Regions from separate parts of the Homo sapiens genome. Here region 2 is linked to region 1. Evidence: promoter capture Hi-C in 16 types of primary human blood cells and fetal thymus (Javierre and others, 2016). All regions are on one chromosome and are shown on one strand. Each heading gives the region's core, a stretch centred on a gene start or on the middle of the fragment in contact. The rest is flanking DNA. Distances are from core to core; before and after follow the strand shown. Region 1 holds the start of C4BPA (complement component 4 binding protein alpha). Region 2 overlaps LOC107985251 (a long non-coding RNA gene).

What was found. Contacts are between HindIII fragments. The CHiCAGO score rates a contact against its expected background, and 5 or more counts as called.
Region 2: a fragment that was not itself captured here is called in contact with the fragment with the promoter of C4BPA in region 1 in 5 of 17 cell types (M2 macrophages, neutrophils, monocytes and 2 more); the score reaches 7.3 in M2 macrophages.

Annotation. Positions count from the first base shown.
Region 1 is chr1:207,100,928-207,108,026 of GRCh38, reverse strand. C4BPA (complement component 4 binding protein alpha) reads right to left here and starts at 3,794. Exons shown (of 12, transcript NM_000715.4): 1 at 3,597-3,794. The HindIII fragment of the contact is 2,080 bases long and covers 3,570-5,649 here.
Region 2 is chr1:207,224,149-207,231,247 of GRCh38, reverse strand. All of the region lies in intron 1 of LOC107985251 (a long non-coding RNA gene), which reads left to right. It also overlaps the pseudogene C4BPAP2. Among named protein-coding and RNA genes, the nearest start is that of LINC02942, 12 kb to the left of the region's middle. The HindIII fragment of the contact is 4,911 bases long and covers 1,425-6,335 here.

The DNA.
Region 1 (7,099 bases), core at 2,545-5,044:
TGTTCCTCCAACACTACTTAATATCTGTGCTTTCTGTCTCAGTGAAGGTGACAATCTCCACCCAGCCTCCCAGACTAGAAATCCAAGTCATTATTGCCTCCTCTGTCTCACCTCCTTGCACTATTCAGAGTCGTCAAGTCCTATCAAGTTGGTCATAGCAGCTGCACCAGAATCTGCCACTCTCTCCAACACTCCACTTCCATAGTCCAGGTTTAGGTTCCTATAATTCCCTTCCCCTCACCCTAGACCACTGCAAAAGCCTTCAAACATTTATAAGCCAGCTTCCATGTTGATGCCATTATGTCCCTAAAAAGCAATTTATGTGTTGTTACTCTGCTTAAAAACATTCATGGTTCCCAGTTTCCATAGGTTCCCCTATCTGTCCCAGTTTTCCCATCATTTCTCACTTAGAACACCATGCTTCAGTCTCAAGGAGGCACTTACCCTTCCCCAAAAACATTCTGGATTTCTTTTTTGAGACAGGGTCTCACTCTGTGTCACCCAAGCTGGAGTGAAGTGGTGCAATCACAGCTCACTGCAGCCTCAACCTCCTGGACTCGAATGATGCTCCCACCTCAGTCTCCCCAGTAGCTGGGACCACAGGAGCGTGCCATCACACCCAGCTAATTTTTTAATTTTTTGTAAAGACAGGGGTCTCACTATGTTGCTCAAGCTGGTCTTGAACTCCTGGCCTCAAGTGAACCTCCCACCTCGGCCTCCCAAAGTGCTGGAATTATAGGCGTGAGCCACCATACAAAGCCAGGATTTTTTTAAAAAACACCTGCAAGCATTTGCAGTTAATGTCTCCCATGCATTAATGCTCTTACCTCCAACTTCTCCTTTACTCACTATTCCTTTACTCACTATTCAGATCAAATGTCACCTCCTTGGTGAAGCATTGCCTGACTTCATCATGAAATGCCAGTGTTTTCTGTTCTTCTAGTACTTGGCTAATACCTTAATTGTAGCATTGTTTTGTATCCTAACTATCTATTTGCTTTTGCCTCCCGAAATACATTGTGAATTCCTTGAAGACAAGGAAGGTGTTTATTCAACTTTCCATCTCTAACGTGGTATTGTAATTGGTCTATATAACCCCGTGACTCCTTTGTTAAAAAAAAACATTTGCAAGGTCAGTTTTATCACGCAGATTATCATCTGCTTTTTTGCAGATGCAGAGGAAGAGAAAAGAGTTCCTCCTTATTTCGCAGAGATTTCTTTCACTGCCTTTAGAAAGACCTAATTTGAGCACCAGAATTTAACTAGCTTAAAACTTACACAGAGGAGGCCGGGTGCAGTGGCTCACGCCTGTAATCCCAGCACTTTGGGAGGCCAAGGCAGGCAGATCACGAGGTCAGGAAGTCGAGACCATCCTGGCTAACACGGTGAAACCCTGTCTCTACTAAAAAGACAAAAAATTAGCTGGGCGTGGTGGCGGGCGCCTGTAGTCCCAGCTACTCGGGAGGCTGAGGCAGGAGAATGGCCTGTGAACCCGGGAGACGGAGCTTGCAGTGAGCAGAGATTGCACCACCGCACTCCAGTCTGGGCAACAAAGCGAGACTCCGTTTCAAAAAAAAAAAAAAAACTTACACGGAGGAAGGAATAAGACAGAATAAACAATAATAAATCTAAAAGGAATGAAAGTCAATTTAATTTTATCTTTAGAATGAGAATGACTGTCTCACTGAGGACCAAATGAAATAATGTGTGTGAAATGCTTTGTCAGTTTTGAAGAGAGATAATACAGTGACTAGACTTCCCTAACAAACCATCAGGATGCATCCTAACTCTTCTCCAACTACGGCATTTGCAGTTCACCATAACTACTCCTGGTGGTCCCTCAGCAGAAACCAGCTGGCCACAGAGTATGGGAATGGAGGCTAGAACTTGCGAGCTGAGAAGACACAAGTTGGAGTTCCAGCAATACCACAGTCTAAGTCTGTGATCTTGAAGAAGCTATATCAGCTTCTTGGATATCAGTTCCCTCCATCTCTAAAATAATGACATTAAACCTAGATGAACAAATTCTGCAATTCTGTAACTGCTCACTGAAAAGCTGAGACTACTCTAGCCAACTTTCATATTTCAAGGACTTCACCTTTTAAATTCCTGCAGAAATGGAACCAACTCAAGAACTTTAGTCAGCATGGCGGGTCCCTTGTGAAAAATAATATCAGCACTTAGCAATGCAGTGCAATTTGAGAGTCACTGGAAAAATCTTTAGTCCTCAAATTTCTCCTTCCATGAGAAGTTACTTTTTAAGTTAATATTTATTTTGTCTAACTTCCCCCTTTTAAAATGCAGATACCTTGTGAAAGGATAGTATTTTTCTCCAGTCTCGGGCTGAGTGTCTTCTTCCTTATACCTGGGCTCTCAATTATATCACTTACAAACTCCAGAAAGAACTGGCTCCCACACTTTCCCCACCCTTCCTAGAATCTCTTTTTTTTTTCTTTTTTTTTTTTTTTTGAGGTGGAGTTTCACTCTTGTTGCCCAGACTAGAGTGCAATGGCACGATCTCAGCTCACCCCAACCTCTGCCTCCCTGGTTCAAATGATCCTCCTGCCTCAGCCTCCCAAGTAGCTGGGATTACAGACATGTGCCACCATGCCTGGCTAATTTTGTAATTTTAGTAGAGACAGGGGTTCTCCATGTTGGTCAGGCTGGTCTCGAACTCCCGACCTCAGGTGATCCGCCAGCCTCGGCCTCCCAAAGTGCTGGGATTACAGGAGTGAGCCACCGTACCTGGCCAAATCTCTTTATTTTTCTATCAGCCCCTTTATTCTGTGCTCATACTACATTCAAACATATCTCTAAGCTTAATGCCAACCTTCTTTGATGCTTCTGCCTCTTCTGTAGTCTACTTTTTATTCTTTTGGTGTTACCATATTTAGAGATAGAATAGGAATCAGCAAAGAGACAAGTGGTTGAAGAATTAAAATGAGGACCAGAATGGTACTGTATCCTGGCCAACCAAGGAAGAAGAGAATTTCAAGAAGGAAGGGTTATCAGCATCGTCAAATTCAGAAAGTAAAGAAGATGAGGACGACTAAGACTGCTAGCTTCAGAAACCAACTGGAGGCTGGCCAGTGTCCTCCTTATTACCAAATCTAAACATCTTTGCTGTCAGTGGTGGAGGAGATTTGGAGTGGTTAATCAAATCTCAAAATAGAAATGGCCCCAGTTTTCAGAATGTAGACTAAGAAAAGCAAGCTTCCTGTGAACCCTTTGAAAAGTCTGATTGACCCCTTGCCTCAACTCTGATGTGGGAAGGTGGTGAAAGATCAACAAACCAACACATCTGTCTTTTAGATACAGTAACAAGAGCAACACCTTACACCTCTTCTTCTTTAGCTTATTTTATTAGAATGCAATATTATTCCTCCATTTATAATTTTTAAAACTTGAGGTTCAGATAGGGTTTAAAGTACGTCTCAAGTCTTACATCCCCCTAATACAGTGCTCCTGAAAAGATTTCTGCTGAAAACACCTCCAAGCTTTTGTCTCTGTTTTATCCTTCTAATCCTGCACTCCTTAAAGGGCCAAACCACCAGCCTTTCCTCCAAGCTTCCCCAAGGGTTTAGTAGTCCACCGACCTTTGGTAGTTGAGGAAGAGCAGAAGACTCTATGATGATATCTGGGATAGTTTCTCAAAGAAGAAAACTGCCTTGATCTATGTAGTCCTGGTTCCTCCCCAGATCAGAGTTTATCATAATACCCTGAAGTTGACTGGTAATTGCTCCACCAAAGAGTCCCTGAATTTCAGCCATGTGGTTGGCTGGTCAAGGACGGTTGATGGAAATAGATGGGCAGAAACTTTTGACGGGCCCAATGAATGATTAACAGCAGAAATAAAGCAGCACTGTTTACCTAAGCTCCTTCCTCTTTGCTAGTCCTCATTCTTCGTAACATGTCGCAATCGTTTATTTTCTCCTCTGCCAACCATTTCCCCTAAGTGGAAAGGTAATTTGAATTTGAAGCCAGAATTCTTTTTTCTTTTCATAAACACATAAGGGTTATGGCAAGACACAGTCCAGCTAGCCTGGAAACCTTGGATACTGCGAGGTTCAGAGAGCCTCCGCAAAAATGATCCACTTTCCATGACACTAGGTCCAGTATGCTTTCCTGGAGTTTGAAAACTGATATTCTTGCCCAGAGCTCGTCTCTATCCCACCCCAAGGAATTACAAAAGGTGGGGAATTTATCAAACATGCATTGGGTTTCCACTATGTGCTGAGTTATCTAGAACGTATTTGGAGTTCAGCAAATGTTAACTGCTACTACATGTCAGGCACCAGAGGGCCTCCAAAAATTGATCTATCCAGTGCGCTCAGAAGAACGCAATGAAGGACCGGCCATGTTTCCTCTCGCATAGATCTAAAAAGACCACAAGCACTTACATAGTCCAATTAAGCTACTAATCCTCAAGGTTAAGATTTGTGTGCTCAGAAGATTGCTATTAAAAGGCAATTCTTTCTGAGAACTTCACTTTTTCTGTAATAAATACTGAAAGTCCCAGAAGAGTTTCAGAAAAGGAACTAAACTACAACAGGTTGAGTTAATCAAGGAAGTTTCTACAGAAGATGTGAGATTTGGATAAAAGGTAGAAATTATTAGATAAAAGTGGTAAGGATATTAGATGTAAAGAAACCATGCGCTAGGTCACCAAGGTGAGACACTGATTTGACCAGAATGAAGATAGAGGAGGATTCCAGATTGCACAGTCTTGAGACTAAATTGGAAGAAATATCACCTTTAAAGCTGCTATTTCTTTAAAGTACCGTTTTCCAATGTATTGAAGTCCTTTCGTTTACTTTCCACAGTGACTCTTGCAGATTTTTCTCTCCAGGTCACCAAATTGTCACATTCCCTCTCAGCAGATGCTCTTACCTCCTACTTTACTAAAAATCATTCTACCTTAGCTTCATCAATGTCAAATTTTCCCTCCTATTCACTCCTCATTCCGAGGAGAATTGTTTCTTCTTTTCCTGCCTCATTTTCAATGCATCTCTCATCCTGAAATGTCCCTTCAATTTTGCCAATACCTCAAATTCCACCTTTCTTCTTTAGTGTGATGCTGAACTTCTCAAAGGTGTGACTTGTTCTACCTGCCTGTTCTTTCTCATTCATCACTCCACCTGTTGCTTTCCCATCTGGCTTCTACCACTCTTCTACTGACATGTCTCTCTGAGGCACGCCCTTAGGTCCAAGTCCAAAATATCTTTAATTCATTTCTTAGGATCTGTCTGCAGCCTTTGTCACTGCTGATCATTTCCTTTCTGAAACTCTCTTCTCCTTTGGCTTCCATGACACTAAACTTACCTGATTCCCTTAACTTAACTAATTTCTCTTTCTTAGTTACTGTTACCTTCTCTTCCTCCTTCTCATTCCTAAATATAGATATATCTCAGGCTCTTCTTTTTTTAAAAAAATTATCTTCGCAATTTTAATGATCTTGCCTTCTGTCACAGCTTTAACTATTACCAGTAAGAAGACTAGCCAGCACTACATTATTATTTCTGATTACTCTCCGAAACTCAAGACTTACTTTCTTAGGTTTTGTTTTTTTTTTCCCCCCACTGGACATCTTGCAAGCACTTCACCCTCAGCACATCCAAAGAGGAATTTCTCATTTCCGGCCAACAAGCTTCACTTTCTGACCCCAGCTTTTTCTGACCTCTGGTTCTCGGGAATAAAATTTCAGATTCACTTTTGAACTCTTCCTCTCCCTCACCCTTCAATGTTTGATTAGTTGACAGGTTGTTTTGATACAAGTTTTCAATATCTCTCGTGTCTGCTGCTGCTTTTTCATTTCTGCTGCCACCAAACCAGTTCAGGTTGATAATGCCTCCCATATGGACTATTGTAGGAGTCCTTTCGTTGGTTTCTCTTAGTTCTTTTCCCTCATCAACCAATACTACAACCAACATTGTGAGAGAAATCTTTCTTTATGTTCTGTCCTTATTACTTCATTGTTTGCAAGGCTTCCATGTCTTCATGGTCTGACTGCCAAAAAACAAATGTATATTCTCTGCCTACCAAAAACAAGTGTATATTCTCTAGCACGTCATTCAAAAGCCTCCATAAACTGGCTTTGACTTATCTTTCCAGCCACCTTCTCTCTCACCAATTTCCATGCTTCATCTAGGCCAGTCCAGGCTATGTGCAAGTTCCTAAACATATCCCATTTTTTCTGCCTCTGTGCAATGCCTTCTAAAATTATTATTAGAAATTCATTTTACAACATTAAAAAGTTTTAAGAGAATAAACACTTATAATTTCATATTCTAAGACAAATGTTTTTATCTGTGCCTATTATTGTCTAATCCTTTCCCACAAGAATAAAGGTTTTACATAAATGCAATCATAAGCCCTTGTTATTAAATATTCTATTTTTACTTAAGATTGTATTTTTAAGATTTTCTACTTCCTCATATTTATCACCATATAGGTCTGCATTACATTTAAAGTACCATAATTTATTCAAAATTTTCCTAAGAGTAGACATTTCAAATGCTCATAAGATCCTCCTAGATAGATAATATGTACAAATAAGAAGTAGCTTCAATTTCAAATCATTTTCCTCCAGTTAGATTAATCCTAGGAATGAATTTACTTGGTTAAAAATCTTATTATTGGCCAGGCGTGGTAGCTCATGCTTGTAATCCCAGCACTTTGGGAGGCCGAGGCGGGCAGATCACCTGAGGTCAGGAGTTCGAGACAGCCTGACCAACATAGGGAAACCCCGTCTCTACTAAAAATACAAAATTAGCCGGGCATGGTGGCGCATGCCTGTAATCCCAGCTACTCAGGAGGCAGAGGCAGGAGAATCGCTTGAACCCAGGAGGCAGAGGTTGTGGTGAGCTGAGATCACGCCATTGCACTCTAGCCTGGGCAACAAGAGCGAAACTCCATCTCAAAAAAAAAAATTGGTTTTAAATCTTATTATTGTCTTACTCCATTTCTCAAATATTCTTTCCAACTGGAATGAGCTCTTTAATCTTTGTCTCTAATTCTCACTTACTTTTGAAGGCCCAAATAACTGTGACTTCTTCCTTGACAATATTCCTGCCTCCTCCTCCCAGACAGAAGTGAACCT
Region 2 (7,099 bases), core at 2,631-5,130, 120 kb before region 1:
TGGGAGGCCGAGGCAGGCAGATCATTTGAGGTCAGGAGTTTGAGACCAGCCTGGCCAACATGGTGAAACCCTGTCTCTACTAAAAATGCAAAAATTAGGCAGGTGTGGTGGCACGTGCCTGTAATCCCAGCTACTTGGGAGGCTGAGGCAGGAGAATCGCTTGAACCCAGGAGGCAGAGGTTGCAGTGAGCTGAGATTGCACCACCGCACTCCAGTCTGGGCTACAGAGTGAGACTCTGTCTCAAAAAAAAAGAAAAAAAAGAAGACTCACCTTCTTTACAATTTTTAATTTAATTTTTATTGAAGAATATTTTACATGCAAAAAAGCACATCGTCTCAAATGCAGAGCTAGTTGACTTTTCACACACTGAACATACCCATGTAACATCACCCAGATGAAGAAACAAAACATTACCAGGACTTCCAAAGCCTTCCTCATACCCCCATCCCGGGGGAAATTGCTATTTTGACTTAAACACTATGAATTACTTTTGCCTGTTTTTATACATTACATACATGAAACAAAACAGTATGTACATCTTTTGTATCTGGCATCTTTCACTAAACACTTTCTGTTTTGAAATTCATCTGTATAATCATTCATTTCATTGTTGCGGTATATTTCGTCATATGATGTATCACCATTAATTTATCCTCTACTACTCATGAGCATTTTGATCATTTCAAGTTTGGGGTTATTGTAAATAGGGCTGCTATAAACATTCTAGCACATGTCCATAGGTGAATAGATACGGATGCATTTTTGAGAGGTAATCTCTAGGGGTAGAATTGCTGGATCATAGAGTAGACATATGTTCAGCTTAGTTGCCAAAGAATTTTGTAAGGCAGTTGGACCAATTTATACTTTCACCAGCAGGTTTTCAGAGTTACGGTTGGAATACATTTTTACTAATACTTGATATTTTATCATTTTAGCTATTCTTCTGAGTATGAATTCTGAAATTGTACTTTGTGTTTGATTTTAATTTACCTAATGACTAATGAAGTTAACCAAGTTTTCTTATGTCTATAAACCAATTGGATATCATTTTTTGTGAAGGTTCTTCAGGTCTTTTTCCATTCTCTTGGTGGGTTGATTATCTTTTTAAATTTATTTGTAAAAGTTCTTTATATTTGGGGGGCACAAGCCCTTAGTTTGACATGAGCTTTGCAAATAGTGCTTTCCAGATTGTAGCTTGCCTTTCACTCTCTTACTGGTGTCCATATCAGTGTTCTAGGGCTGCCATGACAAAATATCAAAGACTAGGGGGATTAAACAACAGAGTTTTGGTTTTTCTTATTCTCACAGTTCTGGGGCAGGGAGTCTGGGATCAAGGTATGAGCATGCTTGTTTTCTTCCGAGCCTCTCTCCTTGGCTTGCAGATGGCCAAGCCATCTTGAATGGCTTGAATAACTTTCAAGCTTGTTATTATTGGGTGAAAGGGATATCAAACAAAACCAAATATCCCTTAAGTATAAAGTGGAAACAAGAAGTTACTCTAGAGAAATACTAGTAATCAGAATGGAGGAGACTCAGAAGAAGATGGCATATTTGATCTGATACAGGTCAGGAAGAGTAGGAAATGAAAATGTAGGGTAAAGATATTTCAGATAAAGGATGCAAGTATGTGTTTTTTGAGGACAACATATACAATAAAGTAGAAAAGTAAGTTAATCTGAGAAACATCAGAAAATGACTTACAGAGAGCCCTAATTTTTCATTACTCAGAAATCAAAGTAAAAACAAAGATAATTTGATTTTTGATAGGTAATTATTTATTCAGCCAGTCCACCAAATCCAGGAAAGCAGGAACTTAAACTGAACTAAGACAAAAATTATGAATTGTTTCATGTGATCGGTGCCACTAAGAATATTAGTGAATTCTCCTAAACACAGATATTTTTCCCCAGTAAATAATAGTACTTGAGAAACACAGAATTGCTAAAGAGAGAAATATAACTGCTTCTCTGTTTTGTGGGGAAAGGGAAGGAAAATCCTTCCTAACTGGTTTCTAACTGGCATTGTTCGTCTTCAAGTCTCACACGTGTTCCAGTCGTTTAATCTCCAGAGACAGCTTTTACACCTCCAGGGTCATTTTCGAATCCTCTGGGTGTGGGAGACACTGCATGAGCTTTCTACCCGTGAGCACTTGCTCACAACCTTCAGAGATTACCTAAATGAAATAAAGCGATAGTTTTTGAGAGGCTTCTCTCCAAATGAAATCCGAATATGTAAGATTTCTTCTGGATGTATCACTGATGACCACAAAACCGGAATGTCAAAACCCTCCTCAGGACAGATGAATAAAATCCCAAAGAAACTAGGGTCTCAGCAAAGTATTCTCCCTCGGCCGTCAGGCAGCAATCAGTAGCTGGTGAAGCAGGGAAGGAACAACGCTGCAGACAACACCCAGGGGGCCTCGTTAGGGGCGACAGAAGGGACAATTCTGATGGGCCCATCTGAAATGAAGCAAAAGCATAGCATTTATTATAGAAAGTATGAGGCTGGGGGTCAAGTCAGCTGGATCTATGAGACCTTCCTATCTAGGGGTGTGGTCCTTCTTGAGCTTACCTTAACAAGTACACCAAAGTGCTTCAAAGGTGACGGTGCTAATTCTGTAAGTGATGTGCCCGAAATAAATCTTGCCAAAAGTCAGATCTCGCTGGTGTTGGCTAGGACAGTGCTCTGGAGGAGACTATCATTTTTAGAATGGGATAGGATGCCCTGAAATGTGTGCCACTTACCCACTCACAACTGGGCACCTCTGGGTGCCTGCCATGTTCTGTGCTCTGATCAAGTGATATTTTGAGGACCAACCAAAGTGATATTTTGAGGACCAACCACTTTATAGCCAGAGTCACACTGGATGGTGACATTTTCAAGTTCAACATACAGATCCTTACCCAGACAGCTTTCCATTTTCTGTCTCTGGTTTCAGACACAGAGCTATAATGGAAACACAATTTTGATCATCCTATGATTCTCAGAATAAGATCTTATAATAGTAAGAATATTGAGAGTTATGAAACATTGATAAATTATACCTGGATGGGATGCTGAGAGTTGTTCTTTACCTCCATTTATTTATGATTATAACAATAAGATTAATAATAATGCTAATAATGTTATTGCACATACTATATGTCAATGTAAGTACTAATGCAAAACATTATTACCTCCATTTTGCTAAAGAGAAAAATTAGGTACAGATAGTTTGTGTGACTTGTCTAATATTGCATAGCCTTTGGGTGGCATGATTATGATGTAAACCTAGTCACTGCGGTCCTAGAGTCAGAGTTTTCAAAATTAGTACAGTATTTCCAAACCTTGATCTTTTCATGGTCCTAAGTATATAATTTTTATTCTCATATTCTTAATATCTTGCTGTGTTAAATGGAGACAGTGTGGGGAATTAGCTCCTTGAGTTGCTATTAATAGATTAGTTAAAAAAAAAAAAAAAGGTTGACCCTATCCTTGTGGTTGACCAAAAATCTCCTATCAGGTCAACTTCATTATGAGAAGGTGGGAGCATGCATGGTTTCTAATGGAGACATCGAATACTTCAAAGATGTTGGGAATTTACCCACAGGATTCCTCATTTAAACTTAAGTAGATGCCCACTAAAATTTTGCCAAATCCTCACTGATACTCTCAAATTAAAAATTGTATCTCTAAGTCCACTAACAGAACCCTGTATATACAGACACTTGAATTATAACAAAGGTCACACTGCAGAGTTGTGTGGAAAGTATAGTTTATTAAATAAGTGCTATATGATTAATTGAACAGCCGTTGGAGAAAAACAAATTTTAACCACTACTTTCCACCATAAACACACAGGAATTCCAAGTGATTTGGAGATACTAATGTGAAAAGTTAAAACAATAAAGCTCTGGAAAATAACATAAGGAAATATTTTTTGTGACCTTGCTGTAGGCAAATATTTCTTAAACAGGATATGAAAGGTGCCAACATCAAGGAAAAAAATTATAAATAGAACTAAATTAGAATTTAGAACTTCTATTTATCAAAATTAGAACACTCATACACTGCTTGTGGAAATTTAAATTGTTGCAATCACCGTTGAACAAAATTTGGCATTATCTACTAAAGATGAATATATGGCTGGGTGTGGTGGCTCACAGCTGTAATCCCACACTTTGGGAGGACAAGGCAGGTAAAGGAGGATCACTTGAGCCCAGGAGTTCAAGACCAGCCTGGGCAACAAAGAAAGGCCCTATCTCTACAAAACACTTTTTAAAAATTAGCCAGGTATGGTGGTGTATGCCTGTAGTCCCAGCTACTCAGGAGGCTGAGGCAGGAAGATCCCTTGAACCCAGGAGTTGGAGGTTACAGTGAGCTATAATCATGCCACTACACTTCAGCCTGGGTGACAAAATGAGAACTTGTCTCAAAAAAAAAAAAAAAAAAAAAAAGAGATGAATAGATGCATACTCTATGAAATAGCAATTCCACTTTTAAGTTTATTCCCAACATAAATATTTGCACATTTGTATCAAGAGTCATGTGCAAGAATGTTCATAAGAGCATTGTTCATAATAGCCTATAACATGAAAATCCTAAACTTTTATAAGATACATAAAATGTGTTATGTTTATCCAAAGATTATACAACAATGAAAATGAATAAGCTATCACCCCATGCAAGAACACATAGATGATTTTCAAAAACATAATACTGAGTAAAGAAGGCAGGCACAAAAGAATACATACATGATTTCCTTTATATTCAAAGTAATGGCAAAAACCGCAGTGACTTTTGCACCAATCTAAATATAATGCTAAAAAGTTGATAAAACTAATCTGTGATGCTAGAGGTGAGACTAATTGGGAAGGAAAGTTGGGGAGTCACTAGGAGAGGGCACACGGAACACTTCTGGGATGCTGGTAGTGGTGATGCTTCTTGACTTGAGTGGTAGTTTGTCATGGTGGGTTCACTTTGTGATAATTTATTGACCTGTACACCTAAGATTTGGACACAGTGTTGTAGTATGTTATATTTAAATCAAAACTTTTATTCAAGCAAAAAGTGGCCTTCCAGATGACCTCTGAAAGATACATTGATAACAGTAGTGTTCAAGAGTGATAAACTGTGATCATTCATGCTATTAAAATATTGTACCATGTGTATATATTAATTATGCAAATTAAATAAATAAGTAAAGTGTAAATTTCTAAGTGCTGCCTCTGTCTAGGAGGAGACTCTTGTTTGACCTTTCATAGAGGCTCTACCTTCTTAGCAAGGGCCCTCAGTAAGTTTGGAGTTAACCTTTACATTGAGGGGCTGGAGCTGACCAATGTGAATTTCTGCAGGTGACTTCAGCCTCTCCAATTAGAACATATCCATCATCACAGTGACAGTGCACCAGAGTAGTAGAGAATAAAAAATGATCTCACATCTTCATAGGACCCATGGCCAATGGGAGGAACCATTCTGCAAACTTGAATGGTGAGAGAGAAGGTAGAGGAGAATGAGCTAGAGTTTCATTTAATGAACAATTCAGTGAGCGACCCTTCTCGTTATGCAGAACTAGGTCATTAACTTATTGTACTGCTGATGTACATTTCGTCTCCTTGACAAAATCAGTAAACTTTTACACTGTTCATGAACTTCTGGGTACAAAAGCATTAATTTAGCCACAGGGAGTTACTCCAAAACAGAATCATATTCAGTAATCATGAGGTTAAATAAAAAGAAAGGCCACAAATTAATTTTCAAAAAGCAGACAGTGCAATTTAAAAACAGCTGAGAGACTTGAATAGATGTTCCTATAGAGGGGCTATACAGATTGTCAACAGACATATTAATAGGTGCTTAATCACATGGGTCATCAGGAAATACAAATAAAAGCCACAATGAGAAATCACTACACACTCACCAGAATGTCTACAATTGAAAACTATGATAATACCAAAGTTTTCATGAGTAGGACACAATGGAACTCCAATGAACTACCTAAGGAAATATAAATTGGTACAGCCACTTCCAAAAACAGTTTGTGGTTATGTCCTAGAACCTGGCAATTACAATCATGGATATTTTCTTGGCAGAAATACACAAACATGTGCACTAAAAGACAAGCTCAGAAATGTTTTCAGCAACATTATTTGTAATGTGACCAAACATGAAAGAGCCTAAAAATCCATCAACTCTAGAACAGATAAGTAAATTATGGTACATTCAACTGATGGAGTACTAGACAGCAATAAAAATGAATGAGATACTATTTACAAAAAAATGGGTGAATCTCACAAATACATTGAGCAAAAGCAGACAGACCATTAATGTATAATTCTATTCCATTATTAAAGCTTTTAAAAATGCAAAACTAAGCTACAGAACAAGTATAAATAAAATAAAGAAATGATTACTCTGCAAATCAGGATGATGGTTACATTTGAAGAAGGATGAAGTAGTAAATGGGAGGGCCCCCATGGGACTTCTGGGGGCTGGCAATGTCCTACATCTCTACCTGGGTGACATTTTCATTAAGTGTTTGATTTTTGATGAATCATGTTGCTGTACATTTTCACTTTGTATACTTTTCTATATGTGTATTATATTCTAATAAGCTTTTTAAAAAAGAGTTGATTATCTTTGAAAATGGTTAAAGAGTGAATGAATCCGGTTGAGTCCCCCCACCTCTTCCAACTACCACCCCCTCCACAAAGAGAATGTTTTATCATTTTGCAATTTTTGGAGAGAGGTTTGTTGAAACAATGCAAAACAATGGCATATTTGGAAGTAAGAAATATGCAAAGAGCACTTTGGGAAGTTGAGGTGGGCAGATCACTTGAGGTCAGGAGTTCCAGACCAGCATGACCAACATGGCAAAACCCCGTCTCTACTAAAAATACAAAAATTAGTGTGGTGGAGCATGCCCATAATCCTGCTACTCAAGAGACTGAGGCATGAGAATCGCTTGAACCTGGGAGGTGGAGGTTGTAGTGAGCCAAGATCATGCCACTGCACTCCAGCCTGGGCAACAGAGCAAGGCTCCACCTCAAAAAAAAAAAAGAAAGAAAGAGAGAGAGAGAGAGAGAGAAAGAAAGAAAGATGCAATGTTGAGTTGTTGAG